Regions from separate parts of the Homo sapiens genome. Here regions 1, 2, 4, 5, 6 and 7 are each linked to region 3. Evidence: promoter capture Hi-C in 16 types of primary human blood cells and fetal thymus (Javierre and others, 2016). All regions are on one chromosome and are shown on one strand. Each heading gives the region's core, a stretch centred on a gene start or on the middle of the fragment in contact. The rest is flanking DNA. Distances are from core to core; before and after follow the strand shown.

What was found. Contacts are between HindIII fragments. The CHiCAGO score rates a contact against its expected background, and 5 or more counts as called.
Region 1: a contact is called between a fragment that was not itself captured here and the fragment with the promoter of LRIT2 in region 3, in 1 of 17 cell types (activated CD4 T cells). The highest score is 6.4, in activated CD4 T cells.
Region 2: a contact is called between a fragment that was not itself captured here and the fragment with the promoter of LRIT2 in region 3, in 1 of 17 cell types (non-activated CD4 T cells). The highest score is 5.0, in non-activated CD4 T cells.
Region 4: a fragment that was not itself captured here is called in contact with the fragment with the promoter of LRIT2 in region 3 in 1 of 17 cell types (total CD8 T cells); the score reaches 6.3 in total CD8 T cells.
Region 5: a fragment that was not itself captured here is called in contact with the fragment with the promoter of LRIT2 in region 3 in 1 of 17 cell types (non-activated CD4 T cells); the score reaches 5.3 in non-activated CD4 T cells.
Region 6: a fragment that was not itself captured here is called in contact with the fragment with the promoter of LRIT2 in region 3 in 8 of 17 cell types (total CD8 T cells, non-activated CD4 T cells, activated CD4 T cells and 5 more); the score reaches 9.4 in total CD8 T cells.
Region 7: a fragment that was not itself captured here is called in contact with the fragment with the promoter of LRIT2 in region 3 in 10 of 17 cell types (neutrophils, activated CD4 T cells, total CD8 T cells and 7 more); the score reaches 12.4 in neutrophils.

The regions. Positions count from the first base shown.
Region 1 is chr10:84,578,809-84,582,081 of GRCh38, reverse strand. No RefSeq gene overlaps it. Among named protein-coding and RNA genes, the nearest start is that of CCSER2, 250 kb to the right of the region's middle. The HindIII fragment of the contact is 626 bases long and covers 1,420-2,045 here.
Region 2 is chr10:84,624,167-84,627,348 of GRCh38, reverse strand. No RefSeq gene overlaps it. Among named protein-coding and RNA genes, the nearest start is that of CCSER2, 300 kb to the right of the region's middle. The HindIII fragment of the contact is 7,132 bases long and covers 1-3,182 here.
Region 3 is chr10:84,223,862-84,227,291 of GRCh38, reverse strand. It overlaps LRIT2 (leucine rich repeat, Ig-like and transmembrane domains 2), which reads left to right and starts at 1,748. Exons shown (of 3, transcript NM_001017924.5): 1 at 1,748-1,881; 2 at 2,178-2,959. The coding sequence starts at 1,772. The HindIII fragment of the contact is 7,130 bases long and covers 1-3,430 here.
Region 4 is chr10:84,496,287-84,499,800 of GRCh38, reverse strand. All of the region lies in intron 9 of CCSER2 (coiled-coil serine rich protein 2), which reads right to left. Among named protein-coding and RNA genes, the nearest start is that of CCSER2, 170 kb to the right of the region's middle. The HindIII fragment of the contact is 969 bases long and covers 1,616-2,584 here.
Region 5 is chr10:84,605,915-84,609,288 of GRCh38, reverse strand. No RefSeq gene overlaps it. Among named protein-coding and RNA genes, the nearest start is that of CCSER2, 280 kb to the right of the region's middle. The HindIII fragment of the contact is 2,131 bases long and covers 495-2,625 here.
Region 6 is chr10:84,546,517-84,550,117 of GRCh38, reverse strand. No RefSeq gene overlaps it. Among named protein-coding and RNA genes, the nearest start is that of CCSER2, 220 kb to the right of the region's middle. The HindIII fragment of the contact is 2,326 bases long and covers 852-3,177 here.
Region 7 is chr10:84,518,437-84,521,785 of GRCh38, reverse strand. CCSER2 (coiled-coil serine rich protein 2) reads right to left here. Exons shown (of 10, transcript NM_001284240.2): 10 at 3,269-3,349. Among named protein-coding and RNA genes, the nearest start is that of CCSER2, 190 kb to the right of the region's middle. The HindIII fragment of the contact is 4,470 bases long and covers 1-3,349 here.

The DNA of each region.
Region 1 (3,273 bases), core at 483-2,982, 350 kb before region 3:
CCTTGGCCAAGGTGCACCAGTGTGAGTGACTTTTCTTTTTCTTTGTGTGTGTGTGTACTTGTTTTAATTGATAGATAAAATTTGTATATATTTGTCATGGACAACACGTTTTGAAATATGCATACAATGTGGAAAGGCTCAATCATAATACACTATTACCTCATGTACTTACCATTTTTGTGGTGAGAACACTTAAAATCTCTCTTAGCAATTTTCAATTATACTTGTTATTAACTATAATCACCACATTGTACAAAAGATCTCCTGAATGTATACCTCCCATGTAACTAAAATTTTGTACCCTTTGACCAATATCTTCATATTCTCCCTCTCCTTTTTTAGGTTTCACATGTAAGTGAAATGCAGGATATGTCTTTCTGTCCCTGACGTACTTTAACATTATGACCTCCAGTTCCAACCTTTTTGCTAGAAATGACAGGAGTTCATCCTTTTTTTTTTTTGAGACTGGGGGTCTCGCTCTGTCACCCAGGCTGGAGTGCAGTGGCACAATCTCAGCTCACTGCAAGCTCTGCCTCCCAGGTTCACGCCATTCTCCTGCCTCAGTCTCCCAAGCAGCTGGTACTACAGGTGCCTGCCACCAAGCCTGGCTAATTTTTTTGTATTTTTAATACAGACGGGGTTTCACAGTGTTAGCTAAGATGGTCTCGATCTCCTGACCTCGTGATCTGCTGGCCTCGACCTCCCAAAGTGCTGGGATTACAGGCATGAGCCACCGTACCCGGCCTGATTTCATCCTTTTTATGGCTGACTAGTATTCCATTGTGTACATAAGACATATTTTATTTATCCATTCATCCACTGGTGAACACTTAGGTTGATTCTGTATCTTGGCTATTGTGAATAGTGCTGCAATCAACATGGGAGTATACATACCTCTTTGGTATAAGGATTTCATTTCCTTTGGATATATACCCAGAAGTGGAATTGCTAGATCATATGGTAATTCTATTTTTAATTTGTTGGGGGACCCCCTGCTATTTTCCAGAAAGCCTGTACTAATCTACATTCTCACCAACAATGTGCAGGAGTTCCCTTTTCTGCACATCCTAAACAACATTTGTTATCTTTTGTCTTTTTGATTAAAGCCCTTCTAAAATATGTGAAGTCGTATTTCACTGTGGCTTGAATTTGCATTTCTCCAATGATTCATGATGTTGAGCATTTTTTCATACATTTTTACATACACATTTGGCCATTCGTGTGTCTTCTTTTGAAAAATGTCTATTCAAGTCTTTTGTCCATTTATTAATCTCATTATTTGTTGTCTTGCTGTTGTTCGAGTTCTTTATATATTTTGGACGTTAACTCCTTATCAGAAGTGTGGTTTGCAAATATTTCCTCCCATTCTGCAGGTTGTCTCTTCACTCTACTGATTGTTCCATTGGCTGTGCAGAAGCTTTTTAGTTCGATGTAATCCTATTTGTCTATTTTCACTTTTGTTACCTGTGTTTTGGGTGTCATATGCAAGTAATCTTCGCCCAGACTAATGTCATGGAGCTTTTCCCCTATGTTTTCTTCTAGTAGATTTACAGTTTCAGGTCTTACGTTTAAGTCTTTAATCCATTTTGAGTTTATTTTTATATGGTGAGAGATAGGGGTTGTGAGTGCCTTTTCCTTATAGCTCTTTTATTTGTCTCACAGTTTCAGATGATTTGACACCCCCTTTTCTTAGGCACTTGGCACAGACCATCTGAGGACTGGTTAGGAGACAATAGATGTAATACTGATTGGCCTCACTCAAGATTGTCACTCAATACTGGCCCTGCACAGAGTCCCTGAGCCTTGGAGTACTTGGGATTCATACTTCTGTCAGAGCTGCTGGGCTGCTTTCTTCCCCATAGTACACATTGCCCAGAAGGCCACCAGGAGGAGGAGACTGGAAAGAGGAGATGGAGGAGGAAGAATAACAACAGACGATTTGCCAAGCTCTGCCTCATCCCCGTAGTGGACTGCAGCAGCATCCTACCCCACATGGGTGATCTCAAAGACAGTCAAAAATAACCATCCTCACAGCTGCCAAAGCTTTGAGAGGAACATTTACTGTCCAGTTGCCTAAAAGAAAACATGAAGATGCACAGATGTCCAGTCTGCTGACTGTTCAGAAACCACTAGTCACTTCTACTAGTACTGCAGCATTGACCTTGGGTCTTCATTCACCTCTTCCCCAATGGAAGCCAGGGACAGCCTTCTGGTCATTGGCAGTAGAGAACAAGCCCATTAACAATGTTTGGTCTGAAGTGGCTTCTGTTGTGTGGGAAACTTAAAGGTCACAAAACATTAAATGTAGAATATCAAGCTAGGAAAGAGTGCATGTCGGGGAGGCAGAGAAATAATAAACACATTGAATATTTTCCCTTCATGCCTTTCATTATTTGACGAGTTGGAGCTTGTGAAACTTACGCAGCTCCAAACGATCTCAATAGTTATCAGTGAGAGAGTTCTACAGGTATTGGGTATGTTTGGCTATTATCTCAAGTACCATGCATTGCAGGTCTCTAGATTGAACATCCATTTCCCTTGTTCTTCTCTGCTCATTCCAGCTTGCTGATAATTTTACACCCAGTACTTTCATTTGACTGGTATTAAGGGACTCTTCATTCTTCTCTTCCCCAAGTATTCTTCTCTTCATTCAATACGTTCTGCCCATCCTCATGATTCCAGCATTTCATTCAACCATCTGCATTTATTTTATCTCCTCTCTAATACTTTACTTTCATTTCTCCCACAGTTTCTCCAAGTTCTCACACATGGTAAAAGAAGCTCTTTATCTCTTGAAACATTTAAGTCCTTGACTAAAGAAACATGCTCTCAAAAAGCACAAAACTATTTGATTAAATAAACTCTCAAAAATATAGCATTAATATAAATACTTGTATACTCTCATTTTTTTTCAAAATTGGAAGACATTTATTTCTCACTAAGTTTCAATTGTTGGCATACTTAAATACAGCCTACCCCTACCCTCATATATATACACATATATATTCTACATATACAAACATATGTATACACATACACACACACACATATATACAGTCATGCATCACTCAACCATGGGGATATATTCTGAGATGTGTCTTTAGGCCATTTTGTCATTGTGCAGACATCATAGAGTGTACTCACACTAAATGATATAACCTACTATGCACCTAGGCTATATGGTATAACCTGCTGCTCCTAGGCTAAAAACCTGCACAGCATGTTAGAATACTGTAGGCAATTGTAAATAACACAATGGTAAGTATCTGAATC
Region 2 (3,182 bases), core at 516-3,015, 400 kb before region 3:
ATTTTATTCATTCGACATTTTTAAAAGCACAATGTTCTCCAAGGTTATCAACTTAGCAACTCTCCTAAATATTCCGTTGTGTGTTCAGATACATTGACGTTGTCTGTCCAGAATTCCAGAAGCTGACAACAGCCATTTTAGACCCAGCTTTCTTTTGCTCAGATGTAACAGGCAAAGAACATCATGTAACATAATGGCAGGAAAGACGTACACAATGGAAGTTTTGATTTACATTTTGAAAGAGTAACAAAAAAATTCAAGTGGCAAAAAATACCATACACATACCATTTAAAATTTCCCCAATGTCGCACTGCCAATAGGTCTATCATACAGGAGTTAAATGTTCTCTTTAAATCTGTTTAGCAGAATATAATGTTGCAAAGCAAAATAGGTCTACCAGGAAGAGCAGCCATAGACCCAGAGGAGGAGTGCTGCATGCCTGGCCCGTGAGACAGCCTCCGGGAGGCGTGGTAACATGGTGTGGGGAGTTGCACCTTTCACCCAGCTTCCAATTTCAGTTCTAATCTGCTTAGGAACAATTAGTTCTCAGTTATAAGGAAGCAGTTTATCCACAATCAAGGTTTAAACAATTCCTAAGCCTGAAATAGAGAAAGGAAGAGACTTAGAGAAAGAAAAGAGGCCAGAGAGCCGGAAGGCAAAGAGGAAAGTAAAGCAAAGCCTATGACAGATGAAAGGTACTCTGAGTCCCAAGCTATGCTAGCAGCTGATTAGATGGTCCCTACCCAGATTGAGGGTGGGTCTGCATCTCCCAGTTCACTCACTCAAATGTTAATCTCCTTTGGAAACACCCTCACAGACACACCCAGGAACAATACTTTGCATCCTTCAATCCAATCAAGTTGACACTCAGCATTAACCATCACAGATGCATTACCTCCTTGAAACTTCTCAACAGTTCTTAGCAGTCACGAGATGAGTTGAAGGAATGTACTCAAACTCACAAACCAGGAATTAGTGAGCAAGATTTGAATGCAAATCTGTTTGGCCGCAAAGCCCCAGATTATTTAACTGCACTCTTGCTGGGCACCAGCCTATGTGGTGCCCAGCAGTAAGAAGCAGTTCGAACATGATTCTTTGCAGGGAAATGGAGGAAAACAGTACAGCAGGCTCACCCTCTCTCATATTTTTGGCCTGTCCATTTATTCTCCACTTTACTGCAAGAATCTCATTCTCCTAGTTGCCTTATCATTCTCCCCTTGTCTGGATTACTACTCCCTCATCCTTTTCTCTAGATACATTCCTTCTTCAGGCTGTGCATCCTGCTCCCCGCAGCTCAATCTGCAAACTCCCAGAGTCTAGGCCCTTTTCCCTGCACTTCTCTGCCATTCTGTGCATGCTGCCAACAAAATTCTGAGCTGTACAAAGTGTAGAAGCTCTTGTAATGCAGAACGTTTTCAAGAAAAATAAAAATAAAAAGACCTAAGCCCACTTTACAGAATGAACTACATATACAATTCACTAAATGAAGGAGACTAATATATAAATATAGCTATAGCTATAGAGACCATCCACTAAACAGGGCGGGGGGGGGGGCGGGCAATAAGATCCAGTAAATTTAGGAAACGTGATATACTTTATCTCCTCTTCGTCACGCACGACAGCCTATTAAAAGGTTGGACAAGTCCTCCTGTAAAAGGATCATCTTTTAACCCAAATTTCTCTGGGCAAAGAAGCCCTTTGTAGGATATTTCCTAATATTTCATGGGGTACTAGTAACACAGTAATAATCTTAAGAACACGGTGTGAGAAATATTGGTTTTGCTGATGTGCATAATAGTATACATAATAAGTATGCAAAGAGAGGCTGAGGAAGGTGTCTGCCCTGCTAACGTTCTCAACAACCTCTTCTTCAGGTGTCTGGTTGGCCTGCCCCCCGGTCCACCTCCGGGGTGCATCCAACCCCCATCCATGAATGGACAAGGTGGTTTGAATTCTTACAGACATGGATTCAATTTATGACAGAAACAAGTTGGCTCAATTCTCCGGGCATCAGATTTCCTACTGGTCAAATGAGCATAATGATGCCTACATTTATAACATTCTTGCCATGGCTTAGACCACAAGAATACACCCTCACAGATGTACCACCCCCCACCCCTACACACACATTCCTCACTGATCTGTACTACATTGGACTCTCTCCTCTATCAGGGTTGATATACTCATTGCAGACTCTTTGTACTCTGTGTCTAAAATTGCTTCAAGTTTAGCCTTGCAAGCATTAACTTCAGCAAGTGTAAGTCTATTTCTTGAGCTATTTCCATTTTCTATTTGTTAGTGACAGATGCTTGCAATTACTGGAACTTCAGGAACAAGACTTCCTTCCAAACCATTCTGCAAATATATGCAACAGAACACCTTCTCCTTTTGGCTGCTACATTGGGGTGGAGGATTAGGGTTGTTGACGGACCTACCTTCGATATAAAACAACAGCTTCAGAGCTGAATTTTTTTGAAAATCTCCTCCCTACTTGGGATGTCTGTGCACAGTGTGCACAGTGATTGTGTCCTCTGTCCCATTCTCAAACCCTTCTTTTCCTCACCAATTTGTTTGAAAGATGCGTCTCCAGCTTCACTGGGTTTGTTGTGTCATCCTTCTGAGACCAAGCGCTCCTGGTATACCTGCCCCATCTCACAACAACCTAGGCAGTGGTGACTTAGCTTGCAAAGTATAGTAACTCATTTGCAACGCAGATCCAAAGAGTCACCCTTTGATCTTGGAGAAGACAACATTGGATGTAATTACCCAAAGGGACTAGAACTTGGAAAAACAATCACATTTTTCTTGTTACTTAGAACAAATGAGACCTCACCTGGCTTTCCTGTGATCTCCAAGTGCCAGCATTTTCTTTCCTGCATAAATACAAAGCCTCTAAGCTCACCACCACATGCCATTCTTGCTCTGGCCTAGAAAAACACCCATCCCAGATATAAGACTAATGTTTTAAAACTCCAAACAGGGCCGGGCGCGGTGGCTCACGCCTGTAATCCCAGCACTTTGGGAGGCCGAGGCGGGTGGATCATGAGGTCAGGAGATCGAGACCATCCTGGCTAACAAGGTGAAACCCCGTCTCTACTAAAAATACGAAAAATTAGCCGGGCGCGGTGGCGGGCGCCTGTAGTCCCAGCTACTCGGGAGGCTGAGGCAGGAGAATGGCGTGA
Region 3 (3,430 bases), core at 499-2,998:
AGGGGAGAGAAAGGAATCCACTAGTGGTTTGGAATAGTCATGAATTAAATCACATATTTCCATGAAACAAGCCTGACAAAGCCTTAGCAAAGCTGGTAGGGGACTCTGGAGTGATAATTGCTCATCAGAGTTTTCCCCCATCAGGGCAAACTGGCCAGGCCCTCACCACCCTCAGTCACTGAATGTGGGATGTGGCTGCTTTGGGAAGGACGTGACCTCATGCAAGCACTCCTTGCAGCTGAGCATCCACTTATACCTTGAAGGGGGATCTAGGAAGCACATAGCCATATGTATGACAAACTTTGTGCCGATAGCTCTCTCTTTGTTTTGGATTTTTACCTTTAGACAAACACAGTGGTCCCCCCAGGTTTTAGAGTTAGACTGTTTGGAAACTCCTGCAAATATTTCTGGCTTGGATGGAAAGCCTGGAGTGTAATCAGCTTAGCTGGTGACCCATTTCCCCCCTCACTGGTTAGCTAAGCGGATTTTCTTTCCTGAGGCCTTTTGTAGGGTACAATGTATATCATGAGTCTTAAAGGAACTCATGGAATTTCAATATTCAACTGGAAGTGCCCTAGTTAATAGAGATGTAGACTTTTCGGATCTTAAAGAGTTTGTCAGTGGGAGGAGGATTAATGGGCACCAACTGTGTGCTAGGTGTTGTATTTAACATAATCTCAAACTTTTCTAAAAATATGGCTGGATGCAATGGCTTGCACCTGTAATCCCAGTTACTTGGGAGGCTGAGAAGTTTGAGACCAGCCTGGGCAACAGAGTGAGACCCTGTCTCTGAAAAAATACAAAAATTAAAAAATAATGAGAAATAAATTCCTGGAAACACTATGAGGTATTTGTTAATATTCTCATGATACAGAAAAGACTCACAGAGATTAAATTACATTCCAAAGATCTCAAGATTCAGAAGCACAAACAAGAGAGAAGACTCCTTGGGACAGGGTCTATAATAGGTTTGCCCTTGACCCTGTTCCTTTCATTGGGCAAGAGTATAGCTTAAAGCAAATGACCAGTAAATATTTGTGGAATAAATGAAGAGTGAAAGAGCAAGCATATAAAATTGTATACATCTCTTTTTAAAATGTAGGTTGCCCATTTTGATGAAGTGAAATGCACAGTATTAAGGAAAGGTTGTGAAGTCCAAGAAAACAATCTTTTGGTTTAATCAGAAAATACCATCTTGTATTTGAAACTGGTGACCCAAGCTGCAGAAGCAGCTGTCTTGATGCAGTAGGAGCATGACTACACCACCCGTGGTGTTGGGAAGAGAACAAATGATAGGAATGAACACAGAATTACTTTGTTACTCATCACCTATTTTCACTTTGAGAAAATGATTGGAAATTCTAGGTTTCAGGAATCAACTGCAAATGATGAAGCATTAGATGGATTCTGGCCACATCCCCTGAACAGTGGTGCTCAGAATAGCACTGCCTGCTTGTTTCTCAGACTTCTGTTTAAGACTCTAAGAAATGTAGAATCTGTATGGAATTGGACATCTGACTTGGAGTTTGCTTTTCAGACTCAAGAATTACACAAATGTTGAATTTCCTGACCCTAGTTAAGAGACATTGATCCCCCTTCGTGTGTTCTGACTGAACTTGTGGTCTGGGCTGTAACAGACCTCAGAGCTCCCATGGGCTTTCCTGCTGCTGTGTGACTTACATCATCATGGATTACCAATAATAGGATTTGCCACTCGGAAGCTGGGGCGATACTTATTCAAAACTCACAACGTATTTTCTTACAGAGAAATATGGCTTCAGTTTTTCATTACTTCCTGTTAGTTCTGGTCTTTCTGGATACACACGCAGCTCAGCCTTTCTGTCTGCCAGGATGCACTTGCTCAGAGGAGAGTTTTGGCAGGTGCGCTCTGCTGGCCAGATGTTAGAGGGTTATGGGGAATGGGTTTTCTTTGGGGATGATGTGGAGTGGAAGCAGGCTTAGAATTGGCAGGAAATCAGCAAAACTCTATGAGACTCATTCTAGTTGGGACTGAACTTTGCTGAACTGTGCATTTTTACCAAAATGAGTCTAACTCTTTTATTTCAATGAATAATAATATTTTTATTCTGATTCACATGTCTAATGCCAGGATCAGCCTGACCCCACTTTTCAGTCCCCTGTTGTTTATCTTAAAGCTGTTCTGGTTTCTTGTACAGGACTCTGCAGTGCACATCTGTCTCCTTGGGAAAGATCCCTGGGAACCTTTCTGAAGAGTTCAAGCAAGTGAGAATTGAAAATTCACCCTTATTTGAGATGCCCCAAGGGTCTTTCATCAACATGAGCACCTTGGAATACCTCTGGCTCAATTTTAACAATATCAGTGTGATCCACCTAGGAGCCCTGGAACACCTGCCAGAACTGAGGGAGCTGAGACTGGAGGGGAACAAGCTCTGCTCAGTACCATGGACAGCGTTCCGTGCCACCCCTCTCCTGAGGGTCTTGGATCTCAAACGCAACAAGATTGATGCACTCCCTGAGCTGGCTCTTCAATTCTTGGTCAGCCTGACCTACCTTGACCTATCCTCCAATAGGCTTACAGTTGTATCCAAGAGTGTCTTCCTGAACTGGCCAGCCTACCAGAAATGCCGGCAGCCTGACTGTGGGGCTGAGATTCTCTCCAGCCTGGTGGTGGCCCTGCATGACAACCCCTGGGTATGTGACTGTCGCCTAAGGGGGCTTGTCCAGTTTGTCAAGTCCATTACCCTCCCAGTCATCCTGGTGAATTCCTACCTGATATGTCAGGGCCCTCTGTCCAAGGCAGGGCAGCTTTTTCATGAAACTGAGCTTAGTGCTTGCATGAAGCCACAGATCTCAACCCCCAGTGCCAATATCACCATCCGGGCAGGACAGAATGTGACCCTGCGATGCTTGGCACAGGCCAGCCCCTCACCATCCATTGCATGGACTTATCCCCTGAGTATGTGGAGAGAATTTGATGGTAAGCCACATGCACCCTCTCAGTGTATCTGGAGGGAATGGAGAGGTCTGTAGCAAACCCATCCTCATTAGAGAGATTCAAAGCTGGGTCAGTCACGAAGGGTGGGTGCAAGTAAGATTGGGATAGCCCTGAATTATGCTCACTAGAACAGAAAAGATTTCAAGGTAGTGTTCCACTATTGGCATTATTTTAAATGTTTGCATACAGATCTCTTTGCATACAGAACATATACACATATATAAACACATATTTCAGGGCTAATTTAATATCTTATGCAAATATTATAAAATTTTATATGAGCAGATATAGTCTTTGGGAATCTTCTAGATGCAAAACACTGGACTATGTATTTTAGAATTCTAGAATTTTTTACTAGGATTGATTTTAGAGATGATCTATTAGTTATTTCCTTAACTTGCCTGAGCAGAATCACCTGGGGTGCTTGTTTGAAATAACACTGACATAAAATTG
Region 4 (3,514 bases), core at 851-3,350, 270 kb before region 3:
TGTTTTACTTTTAAATAACACAGAGCAATAGTGTTAACGAGAAGACAGATTTCATTTTTTTAAAATACAGGCAGCTCAAATTACTAAAAATACATCATAATCCAAACCTAGTTATTTTTAATATTTTTTTAAAAAATTATTTTCCTCTAATATTTGTAGTACAATGTACAAGAAATAATATATTCTTTCCGGTATACATTACATTTATCATCATATATCTCTTGTTAAAGTAGCAGATTCCAGTCTTTTGCAGAAAAAGAAGGAATTTAAAGGGGGAGATAGACTTTAGGTGTTAAACACACAGAAAATGCACCAATTTGTGAATCAGGCAATACAAAAAAATTATCATCTAAAAATTTTTATTTCGGCCGGGTGCAGTGGGCTCACGCATGTAATCCCAGCACTTTGGGAGGATGAGGCGGGTGGATCACGAGGTCAGGAGTTGAAGACCAGCCTGGCCAAAATGGTGAAACCCTGTCTTTACTAAAACTACAAAAATTAGCCAGGTGTGGTGGCAGCCACCTGTAAAACCAGTTACTCGGGAGGCTAAGGCAGGAGAATTGCTTGAACCTGGGAGGTGGAGGTTGCAGTGAGCCGAGATGACGCCACTGCATTCCAGCCTGGGCAACAGAGCAAGACTCCGTCTCAAAAAAAAATAAAATTTCTTCTTAAATCACAGGTTTTCAGAGGATTAGCAGGTAAAAATAAAGAACATTAGCTAAAGTTAGCAAAACCAACACAGCATTAAAAAAGATTCAGGATGTTGTAATGTGACATGTAGGCCACTGGTTACGTGGACATGCTTTTTAATTTCAATAACTTGTGGCTTTTTAGCTTTACTTATTTTAATCACAGATTATCAGAACTACGATACTCCTGAAATGTCATTTACTTCAATGTCCTCACTTTACAGAAAAAACTTTTTTCAAGAAAGTAACTGTTCAATGTTATACAAAGGGAACCATATTGGGTCTTATGTCCTTAGCCTCCTTACTGACTGAAACATATGCACAAAAAAATCTACTGAAACACTCTTAAAATATCATTAAGGAAAATCAGCCTATAAATCATGATCATACCCAGTTAAATCTGCAAAAGAAATTATGTATATTTTTTCAGACCAATTAATCTGACTTAAAAATAATATTGTATTAAAAATTACGATAATAGTTTAACAGTGTTTACAGATCTTATGAAGGGTCTGAAATGAAAAAAATTTTTCTCACTTTCCGTATCAACATTCTTTGACTCAGGTATAATCAAATACTTCTTTAAATTTAAGGGTGATCCCACATTGTTCAATATAAAACAGAAACATAAAAGATCCATTTTCTATGTTGATGAAGGGAAAAAAAAAAGCCACAAAAACTAAATTAACAATCTTTAGGATATTCTAGTAAATAAAAATCTTATCTTTTGAAATTATTATACTTTTTTCTTTTGCTAATTTGGCAAAAACAGCTTAGAAAACATTGAATAAGGTGATGACCCCAGATGCTCTCCATAGATACTACCTGCTGTTATGCTGTTTGTGAAATGTTTTGGTTCAAAGGCTATATTTATACTAAACAAATTCTCAACCAAATCCTCCCTATGCGTTTTGCAGAACCAAGCTTCTACCCACTGTACTACTAAGTAAAGAAACTTTCAGATGGTAACTTCATAGACATGTTTAAGAAAACAGTCATTGTTTCCTTCACCAAAGAGGTATGTTTACCTTTGCAGGTCTGTGGAAATAGCACTGACCTTGGAATCAGGGAAACTTTTTTTCCTTGGATCTTTCCCAAGCCTTGTAACCTTGAGAAAATTACTGATTTTTGAGCCTCAGTTTCCTTATTTGTCAGATGCAGAGGCTGGACTGGTTCATCTCGAAGAACCCTCTTACTTTTAGTTCCTATAATTTAGTTACTCATATCTGTCCCCATCTCCACTCCAGTAATTTTATAACTCTATTTTTAATTTTGTAACTCTATTTATATGGCATTTAAAACAATCAACTTTGTATTAAATTGTCTCTCCTGCTAGATCATTAATTCCTGAAATAATTTAGGTGAAAGTATCTGTCACAGTACCTATAAGTTCGCAGGAGTTTTAAAAGATATTAGATGTCCCACCTTCTATAGCCTAAAACTCCCCCAGCATGTAGCAGACACTAAGTTAACTATTTACTGATTTAAACAAAATTAAATTAATTTACTGTGTTTATCTAGAGATGCAGCTGTAGCATCTGTCAATCCCGGCCACACACTATAACCACCTAAGAAATTTTAAAACCAAAAACAATGATATCTGTCTTTATTTCCCCAAGACCAACAAATCATAATCTCTGGCATAGGTCTGAGTATAAGAAGGGAAAGACAACCTTGTGAAATAAATACATAAACAGCGCTGCCTGCCACCGCCAAGGGGCACCCATCTATTAGCCTATCAAACAGTTGTATGCCATCAGAGCTTATGCCCAGAAAGACAAAGAATGTTACTCATTTTATTTCTGCCACCTACAATGCGTCTTCCACTTCTCTACCCATCTGTCAAAATCTTATCCAGCCCCCTTAGGTTCTTTCAAACCCATTTCCTAAAAGCTTTTCCTGATCCTGCCTAAATTAATTATGATCATTCTTGTTTATAAACACCCACAGCAATTGGTGGAATCTTTCTTCCTCTTTTCATTACTTTGATTTGAGTATCTTAAAAATTCTTCTATTAAATATAACCACCCTGAAAATAATAGCTCTCTTACTTTCCTTGGTGTCAACTACTTAGCTTCTTGTCAATTTACTTATAGAGAGTAGAAATAACATACTCTGATCAGCATTTAATAGAACAGGGAATTCCAGTTTCAGGAAAAGATGGAGTAGACATACTTCTCCCTTTTCCTGCTGTCAAATACAGCTAAAAACCCTGGGCACTATATATAAAACACAATATTCTGAAAGGTAGAGAGAAAAAGTGAGACCAGCTTGGGACCCAAGGAAAAATATGGTGATTTTCTTTTTGCCTAATGTATCCTAAAATGAGTGATAGAGAAGCCAGCCCCTGGAAATGACAAGGAACACACACAAAAAAAAAATTTAAGAAAGCCTGCACACTCTAGCCAAAGGATCAGGAAAGAGGAAGACTAGCAATGCAGGAAACTTGTATCCAGTAATCTACCTAACACCACAGAAAAACCTGTGGCCCCAGCCCCCATTCCCATCAGAAAGGGAGGACTGGGAAGGCCGGGCGCGGTGGCTCATGCCTGTAATCCCAGCACTTTGGGAGGCCGAGGCGGGCAGATCACGAGGTCAGGAGATCCAGACCATCCTGGCTAACATGGTGAAACCCCATCTCTACTAAAAATACAAAAAATTAGCCGGGCGTGGTGGCGGGCGCCTGTAGTCCCAGCTACTTGGGAGGCTGAGGCAGGAGAACAGCATGAACCCAGGAGGCGGAGCTTGCTGTGAGCCGAGATCACCCCACTGCACTCCAGCCTGGGCGACAGAGCGAGACTCCGTCTCAAAAAAGAAAAAAGAAA
Region 5 (3,374 bases), core at 311-2,810, 380 kb before region 3:
ACCTGAGATTGGGGTACTTTGAAGTCTGGAAGCCCAGCTCTTTCCATGTGTCCCCCTCTCAGGTGGAATCTGGCTGAATTCCTGAATGCCTGACATTTCACTGGGAGAACTCCAGTGGATGGTGTGTTCATTTTCCAGATAATCCCTCTAGTGTGTGCCAGGGCAACCCAGCTCCTCTGCCACCAGGCAGAAGCTAGTACATTTTTCAAAGCTTTTTCTGCAATTCAGAGAGCCAACAGCAAAACACAAAACCATAATTTCAGTCTTTGAAAATGGCCAGTTGGAAAATGAAATGGGAGGTCATGGGTTTGAGGAAATTGGGAAAAACCATCAAATGCTCTCCCTGCTCAACAAAGCAGCTGAGAGCTTGAGTTAGCTCTGCAGAGAAATGACCAGACGAGGTCAGGTACTGCCAAGCTCACTGACTTGGCCTTTCCTGGCCTTCCTCCTCTGTTAAATTTGGTCCATGAAACAGCAGTGATTCCAAACAAGCTTGTTCATGCATCATTTCAGCTAAGTCAAAAAGGAGCACTCCTCATTCTAACAGATATTAGGACCTATTTTCTGTGCTAAACACTGTTCTGAGGCCTTTCTATATTCTCTCACATAAGTTACATCTGTTTTCCAGGGCTTACACCATATTTTCTATATTCTATTTATATAGGATGAAATTATACCATACAGCACATATTACATATTTAGTGTATTTTTAGTTATATATTTAAACACTTCCATGTTGCCTATGATATACTTTATGTTTTTAGCACAATCCTTTGAGTCAATTATTTATCACCCCATTTTTTAGACTAAAAAACTGAAGCCCAGCAGGCTAGAATAACTTGCTTTAAGTCCTGCAACCAGTAAAACTGACAAACAGAATGCAAACCTACATCCTCCTGTAACCCAGATTTGTACCTTTTCTTCTGTGTCAGCTCTTTCATCTGGTTTCATTCTTAGTCACAGTCAGGGCATAACCAGATGCTGTGGGATCCTGGGCCACCTCCGGGCACCCTCCTGAATCAGCGTGGTCCTGACCACCACCACCCTTTCTTCATGTCCCAAGGGTGGTTGCGTTGCTGTGAACATACTTAAAATCCCGGCCTAAAACTGTTCAGCAAATTGTGACTTGCTCAGAAATAGAATATTACAAAACCCTTAAAAATTATATTTCATGGCCACAGAAATAAATGCTTATATGTAAAACAAACAACAATAACAAAGGACACAATGTGGTCATCATAACATGAGATCAACATTGTGAAGAAATTCACAGAAAAAAGCCAGAAAGGAAAATCCAATTGCTTAATTAGGGGTTATTCCTGGATGAGGGGCTGATGGGTGCCTTTTCTTCTTCTTTTGACTTTTCAGTATTTCACAACTTTTCCACGATAGACATGCATCGCTTTACAATGAGGGGCAAAAATATTTAAAACCTGAGCGTGGCTTGAAAACTGCTCACACTGCCCAGTTTCATGCACACTTCAAAGGGCATGGGGCTGGAGCAAGTCTCCCTTCCACAGAGCTGGCTGGAGCCTCACAGCAAGAGGGAGTGCACCTGGGGAAAACTCCTCCTCCCGGCGTGGGCAGCCGGGTTTGTTGTGTCTGCCCTCCAGTTCTCCATTCTCACGTCGCCTGAATTTCCCTGGAGAAGGCACAGGCTACAGCCTGAAGCCGACCCTTCCTTCCCCAGCTGGTCTGCAGCATTCAGCTCTGCAACCTCCAAACCCAAACCCAGTCCTAAAACATAAGCCTGCTGGGTGACAGGCTTCACCTCTGAGTTTTAATCAGAAAACTCTCCTAGCCCTGTCTTGGCACCCAGGACCACAAGTGACACTGTAACAACTGCACCTGTCTACTCATTTCTTGCTTTAACAAACATGTAAGCACTTTCTAGAGGGGACAGCCCCGCCTAGACAACAAGTTCCATTGGGAGAGAGGGGCACCTGACACCACATTGGATTAGTGGGGAGATCTGCACATTGTCCCATGGGATAGCAGAGGAAGAGTAGCTTCTGTCCCTGGGAAGGCTGCCCACAAACAGCTGTGTCTGAGCGGGCTTCCAGAAAGATGAAGAGTGATCAAACAGAAGAGAGAAAGGTTTGCATTTTGCGCAAAGCCAACAGCATGAGCAAACACACAAGGAGGGCATTTGAGGTCTTTGGCCAGAAAGTAAGATGCTTAGAGCTGAACTGCCTTGTCGGCAGTGCCAGGGAGGTAGAAATTCCTCCTTTTGGCAAATAGAGCCAGCTAGGCCCCTAAGCACAGGCTTGGTCTTAGAGAGATGCCTGTGGCAGTGCAGGAAAGAGTGCCAAGGCAGAAGGACCACTGGGGATTGCAATGGGCATTTTGTGTGCTCAGCCACTCAGCACTTTAGTAGGAATCTGCCGTGGAGTAAGAGGTATATATTTATTCTGCCCTGGTGCAGAAATCAGAAAATGAAATCAGAAATGAGAATTTATGCAAACTGGGTTTCCCAGGGCCTTCTGCAGACTCAGGCCTGCCTGGGAATCTGGCCTGAGATGGCCAATGACTTCCACTCCTGGGAACTTGGCATCGGGAACCAAAAAAAGGTGAATTCCATCTCCCTGGGGACACTGGTCTGCAACCCAGGAAAAAAGAGAAGCTTGTGATTTTACTTGCTAGGCTGACTAGGGCATAGAGGGAGCTATTCTGCAAGAAATTAAGAAGCAAAGAGGGGAACAAAGAGAGGTCACCAGTGAGAACTGTCTGGACTCTGCACGGCCTTTGTCTCTGGGTCCATTCTGGAAGTCCAACTTTAGGCGTTCCTTCCCATTCCATGAGGTTGGAAGGAGAGTCTGATACATTTCTGCATTTCTTTTTTGTTGTTAAGGTTGCAAGTTTAGTTTCTATTACTTACAACCAAAAAGTCCTAAGTTATATAAAGGTTCTTATAAAAGTTCTAGCCTGAACTAAGTCATTGCAGTGGGGTTAAAAGGAACAACGGTTATTTAGACTATGAAGTCAAATGGGAGGAGACTGCCTGCTTTGTCATCTAGCCAATCTCAATTACTCACAGACTGTCCCCATCACATGCCCTCTCCCAAGGCAACTATGGACTTCAGAAAGAGAATGCTTTGGCTCTATGCTACCTAGAAGCCCCCTTTCCACAACCAGGCCTCAAAGCAGACCCGGAGAGGAAAAATAAGCAGGGTCTCTGCCACATGAGAAATGGACAGAGGGCTCGAATCATCTAGTGACTATCTTGGCCCTTGCCTCATTTAAGAAGACAGTTGGGCAACTAGCACTATTGAATCACCCCAGACTGGGTTTTCTAAGGCCTGGGGATAAGATGACATCATCACCTTTGCGGGGCAGCAAACTAACATCAACACAAGCACCGCCACTACCAGCAC
Region 6 (3,601 bases), core at 765-3,264, 320 kb before region 3:
GAAGTCAATCACTTGACCCTGGAAGTATTTCCCAAGGAGTAGCAGGATGTTCTAGAGAAAGCCCCAGCCATCTGGAGGATGCCAGGCACTTGCAGCCGTTTAGTAAACCCCCTCCCAGCTGTCAGACACAGCCCACTGAGGCATTTAATTTGGCAGAGCAAACATTGGTTATCAGTGAGAATGCTTATCAAATGTCAATTAGCATTCTGTCATAATTGATGTCTAACTAACATACCATCGTATGTTGTTGGGTGCCAATTAAATGCCTAAACAGTCCTTTCTATTTTATTGCATCAACAAGACAGTAATTGTACATTTCTCAGTTCAGTAACTTTGGAGTTAATTTTATTGTAAGCCTTTTGGAATACAGAAACCCAGAGAGAATTCTCAGGCAGATATTTAATCGATGTGCTGCTTTGATATTGCTAAAGCTTACCTTACGTTCACTACTTTCCTGAGAAATCAAATTATTCATTTCTAGAAAGGTCAAACTCCACGAGGTGTCAGTGCCACGCTCAGGCAAACATGTATGACAGGAATGAGCTGGACAGGCTGGGGAGGGAAGGGACAGAAGCGTGGCCTCAGCTGTCCTCCCTCTCTGCCAGCCCGAGTGTCTCTGGGAAAGGACTTGCTAAATGCCGGGGACTTACAGTTAGCAGAATATGGACTCCAAGGTACCCAGGGTGGGTATGTGTACATGGCCGAGTCTCAGGCCCTGCATGCAGAGGACATAATAGGTATGTACATTTCTCAGTTCCGTTTGGAGAGGGACCCTGGCACTCTGCCATCTGTACCCCATGGAAGAGGAACAATAACTCTGTGGGAATTGGAAGCAGAGCTCCCCAAAAGCTTAGCAGAGAGGAAATGGTTGAGGCGCATATCCTGAAGTCTAAGTGATAAGGCTTCAACCTTGGCCACAGAAAGGTGTACTACTTATTGTCTCTCAGCTCCAAACCCACCCTTCTATCTCAGCTCAGTGACGCTGAGGCTAGGATGCTGCAAACCACGTTTCTGCTTTGCCGGCTGCTCCCTGTTGGACTTTACCAGTAGGGGGCACTTCAGGGAGACTGGGGAGCTGGAGGATGGAGCAGAACTTGCTCCTTCCCATTGGCTTCTGCTCTTATGAGCATCACCCTAGCAATGCCTCTTCGCCCCAGCAAAGGCAGTTCCTTCCTGTAGCAGCAGCTGGATTCATTCTGCAGTTTTTTTCATCCCATCTACCCTCCCACCCATTGCAGAAACCCAAGCACCAGCCATCACTCCCTACTCAATCTGAGTTCCAGTTCCAGGGGCTTTGCCCAAGCCTTGAGTTTTAATAATTCCATTCTCTTCCCTTATTCCTCCAGCCCTAGGTGTGAGTGCTGCTTCCTGCAGTCACCACGTCTGTGATAGTTTAGAGTCTTTTTTATGTCCTTTCAGTTATGGAGTTCACAATTTTATGCCTAGTAAACAATTCTTTATATTAAAATACTCTCTGCTCAAATAAGTGCTGTGGTTCTGTCTCCCAGGGGGACCCTGACTGATATGGAAGGAAGGACTAGAACCAGAAGGAGGCCTTGCAGAGGGCTACAGGAAACACACTTGTACCAAAAGGAGGAGAACAAACTAGGGGTGAGGGATGGAGGGAAGCGGAGGTGTGCAGGTGAGGAAGCCCACCTGCATTGGGCACTGGGGGAGAGTTAGCCTGCAGGATCAGAACCCAGCTCTGCTTTGTGCTCTCTGTGAAACCTAGGGCAAGTTGTTCAGCCCCTCTCTGCCCACTTTCCTCATTTGTAGAATGGAGATGATACATAAATTTGCTACCTCATAAATTTGCTTTGTGTATTTGATGATGGTTTCCATGAAAGCATCTGACCGAGTGCCTGGCAAAAAAAAAATGCTCAGATGTTGCCTGTTGTCATGACCATCATGAGAGGCTGATGGGAAAAAGGAGGGTAGGAAAACGCACAGAAAGGGAAGTTGCTTGCTCACCTTGGACTCTCACTGGGAAGCATCATGGAGTCCCTTTATACACAGCTCCTCTGGAGAGCGGGGAGGTGATCCCACCAGCTGTAGCTGCTGAAGTTGCCAACAGGGACTTGTTTTATAAATGAGCCAAAGATGGCCTCTGTACATTAGCCCATGGATTGCTTATTTCTGCACTGCAGGCTGAGATCTGTTAGCTCAAAAGCCTGCCAGCACCCAGCTAAAATTTTTACACATCCAATTATTTTTAAAATAGCTCAAACAAGCAATTTTTTTATCCATTTAGAGACTGCTAGCTTTGCAAACTCCCCCCATCTCACCCAACAGCTGTCACCTCTTGATAAGATAGGGTCTTGCAATTATAAGGCGCCAAACTGCTAAGGCCCTTCAGAGCTCCGAGCTCAGAGACTCCCCGCTTTGAGGCTGGATAATCATTTTCTACCCTTTTGAAACACCATGTTTACTATGAACTAAATTATTGCATTACTTGGGTATATTTCAGCAATTTAATATTGTCCACTGATATATCCACTTCTATACCAGTACCATATTCTTTCAATTATTGTCCCTTTATAATAGGTTTTAATATCTGAAGCAAGGTTTAATATCTGGAAATTTTTCATATCAAGATTTCAGTGGCTATTCTTCTATGTTCTAGATAAATTTTTTAAATGATTAGATTAAATGTTTAAAAAAGATGATATTTATCTCATAATATTTTACTCGAATAAATGTTATTTCTATATAAACTCAAAGAGAATTGCCACCTTGATAATGTCAATTGTTCTGGTCCCTTCATCCATTTCTTAGATAAATCACTACTGAGGCCGGGCACGGTGGCTCACGCCTGTAATCCCAGCACTTCGGGAGGCCAAGGCAGGTGGATCACCTGAAGTCAGGAGTTCAAGACCAGCCTGGCCAACATGGTGAAACCTCATCTCTACTAAAAATGCAAAAATTAGCTGGGCAGGTTGGCGGGCACCTGTAGTCCCAGCTACTTGGGAGGCTGAGGCAGGAGAATCGCTTGAACTCAGGAGGCGGAGGGTGCAGTGAGCCGAGAGCATGCCATTACACTCCAGCCTGGGCAACAGAGCAAGACTCCGTCTCCAAAATAAATAAATAAATCACTATTGAGGCCTCCTAAGTGCCAGGTACATTTTAGGTGCTGGGACACTGGGCAACGTCAGCTATGATTCCTGTCCTCTCAAAGCTTTGTGTAAACTGTATTTATTTAAAGAATCATTCACAGGCAGGTAAGAGTTGAATTCTCGCCACAGCATGGCTGCAAGTGGTGCTTGGAAATTAAGGACGTGATGAGGGCTGGATTGGGCTCCACACTTCTCCCAGGCAGTGCTCGAAGGGGAGCTGTTAGCGTATGTTCCCTGCAGAGCACCCAGGGCTGCCTCGGCCAAGTGCATGTTCAAATGGAGACAGCCTGGGAGCCTGTTTAATGACTCAGAACGGGAGCAAGATTTGGAGAAACTGGAAATTAAATGTCTAACTGAGTCCTGAGGATTGCGGCTAATGGGCTCACCTTGGGAAAGGGATTGGGATCCCGGCATTTTGTAGAAGTGACCAGATTTCTTACTGCCTTCCAGATATCTCAGGGTGGCCTCTTGAAGAATTGTTGGCAACA
Region 7 (3,349 bases), core at 37-2,536, 290 kb before region 3:
AAATTTTTCTTAGAATGAGAGTAGTCAGACCAAGGACCAGGGTTCTGAGTGCCCAGGTCTGGCCCAAACCCTTTCCCAAACACCTCCTGTGAGCTCTGACTAGTCCTGAATCTTTGAACCTGGTGGAGGCGGCCCCTGGCAGCAGGGAGTTTAGAGCATCTGTGTTTGCATCTCAGCAAAACTCTGGAACACAATTTAAGAAACCATTTGCATTAACAATCCATCACAACTCCTATTACTTTTGTTTTTCATTGCAATTCACATTTGCACTTGACCTACTATAAATGCAAAACCTCAGCTAAAACTTGTGAAAATTTTTTAAATTCCTGATAATTCAGAAGTATTTTGAACTGATACGTGCTTAAAAAGGCCTCAGGTTCGTGGAATGTATCGTTACCACTACAGGTTATGTGATAGTGGCCTAGTTTTTATTTAGCTGTAATTAAAAAGAAATCCTAACACACATGCACATTTGTCAAGGATGAATGGTTTTGGAAGCGAGTTCACCTGTGGTCCCAAACGTCCCCTTCCTGCCCACTGGCTCTCTTACAGTGCTTTGTTTGGGATCCTTCTTGTCATGTTGCAATTTGATCTCTTCAATCGCAGGGTCTCCGTCTCATCCACCTCCTGCCACGAGACAGAAACGAGGGCTGTGCACAAAACAAGCATTTCAACCATGTTTCTTGTGGGGAATAGTTACCTTTCACTTTAGTAGACTGATATTTCAGGTATACTTTTGCTGCAGAAAGCATTTGTTCTGTAATCACTTAAAGTATTACCAAAGGATTATTCATACTCAAAATGGGTGTCTGAATGAATTCATGTGAGGATTAAGGAGTGGGTTGTTTTGAGATCTGGAAAGTAGCAATACCATTTTTCAGGTTGAGAAACCAGAGAAGTGCCTGTGAGGAACTGTTTCTTCCTCTCTGATTTTTGCACAGAAAAGATGCTAATTTGAGGGCTGTGTGCATGGGTGGGTGGGAGAATTCATCAGTGAGGAAAAGGCTTCTCTGGATGACCTAAATTCCTCCTTAGAGACTCCATGGCAAGAAATGGTAGGAAACCAGCAACAACATGAATGAAACTGGAGGTCATTATGTGAAATAAGCCACATACAGGAAGACAAATGTTGCACATTCTCACTCATGTGGAAGATAAAAAAGAAATGATCTAACAGAGGTAGAGAGTAGAATAGTGGTTACCAAAGGCTGGAAAGGGTGGTGGGGAGGTGGGATAAAGAGGGGATGGTTAATGGGTACAAAAATACAGTTAGAATGAATAGGACCTAGTGTTCAGTAGCACAGTACAGTGACCATAGTTAACAATAATTTATTGTATATTTCAAAATAACCAGAAGAGTAGTATTGAAATATTCCTAGCACAAAGAAATAAATGAGGCAATGGATATCCCAATTACACAGATTATAGTGTATGCTTGTATCGAAATAACAGGTATTTAATAAATATGTATAATTATTATATATCCATAAAAATTAAAAATTAAAATAGAAACTGAAAACATCAAGTAGACCATATTATATTTGATCTATCCAAGAGAATGGGATGGAAGGAAAAGCCCGGACATGAATTTGAATGTTAAAGGTAGACTTCAGAAAGCAACATCTTATGGGTTGAGGTTCTAAAAGGGACAGTGGCCTTAGGATAGTCGAGAAGTCTTAAAATCAAATTCCAAGAACCTAAAGTAGAAAGCAGAGTATTTAATAGTGGCTAAAGAGGAAGTTCGTTCTTGGATAAAATAATAAAAGGCCAGGTTTTCTAGGGAAATGAAGGCATGCAACCAAACAAGAATAAACATAATATAGAATCCAAGAGGAGAATAGTGCAAGGGAGTTAAAGCCCAGAATGAAATGAAACTGAAGAGGAAACGTCAAAAGAGACTGGTAGGTTCAAAGGAAGATAATAAACAGGGAATGCAAGGGAAGGGCTCAGTGCTGCAATGGATCGGATGATGTTAAAAATCCCCTAGGGTTCCTAAGCTCCATAAGGCAGAACCTGTATCATCGTTACCTTTGTACACCCTGCAGCCAGCACAGCAAGTGACACAGGTAAGACATCCCATCAAACTTACTTAAACCAAGTTAACAGAGGAAGAAGTCAATTCTTTAACTCATGCTTGTCTTTTCTGTAGGGATAAAATATTTTCACAATGGAAAACGCGCAATCAACAGCATAAATGAAGAAACTGAAATGACTACACTTAATGACAAAATTAAAAGGGAAAATTTTTAGTATAAGAAAGTACTTGCTAATGATAGATGCAGAAGGCCAATAAGGGGGAGGGTCCTCAGAGAATCTCCAACCAGCTTGTGCACTGGGAGAACTGGGTGGAGCCACGGGAAGTTCCAGCCTTGGGCAGGAGGGAAGAGCCTGAGCTCTTCAGCTCACATGTGTGGTGGCCTGGAACTTATCTGTGAGGTGGGGGCCTGTTAGCAGGATTCCCCCCTTGCTTTGCTGAGTTTTTTTTTCCTTTTTGCCCAATGAATTCCATTCCCCACACACTTCAATGTGTCCATGTGTCTACATTTTCCTGGTCCTGACACAAGAACCCCGATTTAGCCGACCTAAGGAGCAAAATTCTGCAACACTAAGAACTCAGATGGCCTTAAAGTTCATACAGGTGTCTTAAGAGGTAATAAGTGCTATTATCAAACTATTAATAAAATTTCCCTCCTTTCCCAGAATTCGTGTAAACATTTTGGATTAATAACATACCACTGCATCAACTTTTTTGTCTCTTATTACGGGACTATCGCATCTGACTAAACTGTAAAACTGAAAAAATATATATTCCTTACTCCTTTTGTTCCTAAAAATTATGTAAAATTTCACTAAACACCTTTCTTGCCTCAAGCTATTTTGTATACTGCTTAAAAACAATGACAAAATAATTAAAATTACAAGTGTTTTCTTCCTTGTACAGCATTCTAAATCCAAGGTGCTAATGTTTCTTGAAATGTCCATTAACCATTATCCCAATATTCTAAGATAAAGCAGGTATTTTATTACAATGGAAACGAAAGTACTAGATCTCTTACAGAATTTGTGAAGACACAACAACAAAATACTGATCAACTCCTACTCAATCAGGGCTTGGGGTGTCAAGATGTGTGTGAAGGCAGCATGTAAAATAAAGTATCAGAGTTGGGAAAAACATAAGCAAATGAACAGTATCTTAGATCTTTGTGGGAAAAAAGATATCAAAGAAAAAGCAAACTATGGGAGTCAATGTTGAGAAAGACAAGAGAACTTTTATAATTATGAACTTTATTTTTATTTACTATGCCAACATTTTCAGGAGAGACTTTACATCTGCTTTTTAGAATTCATT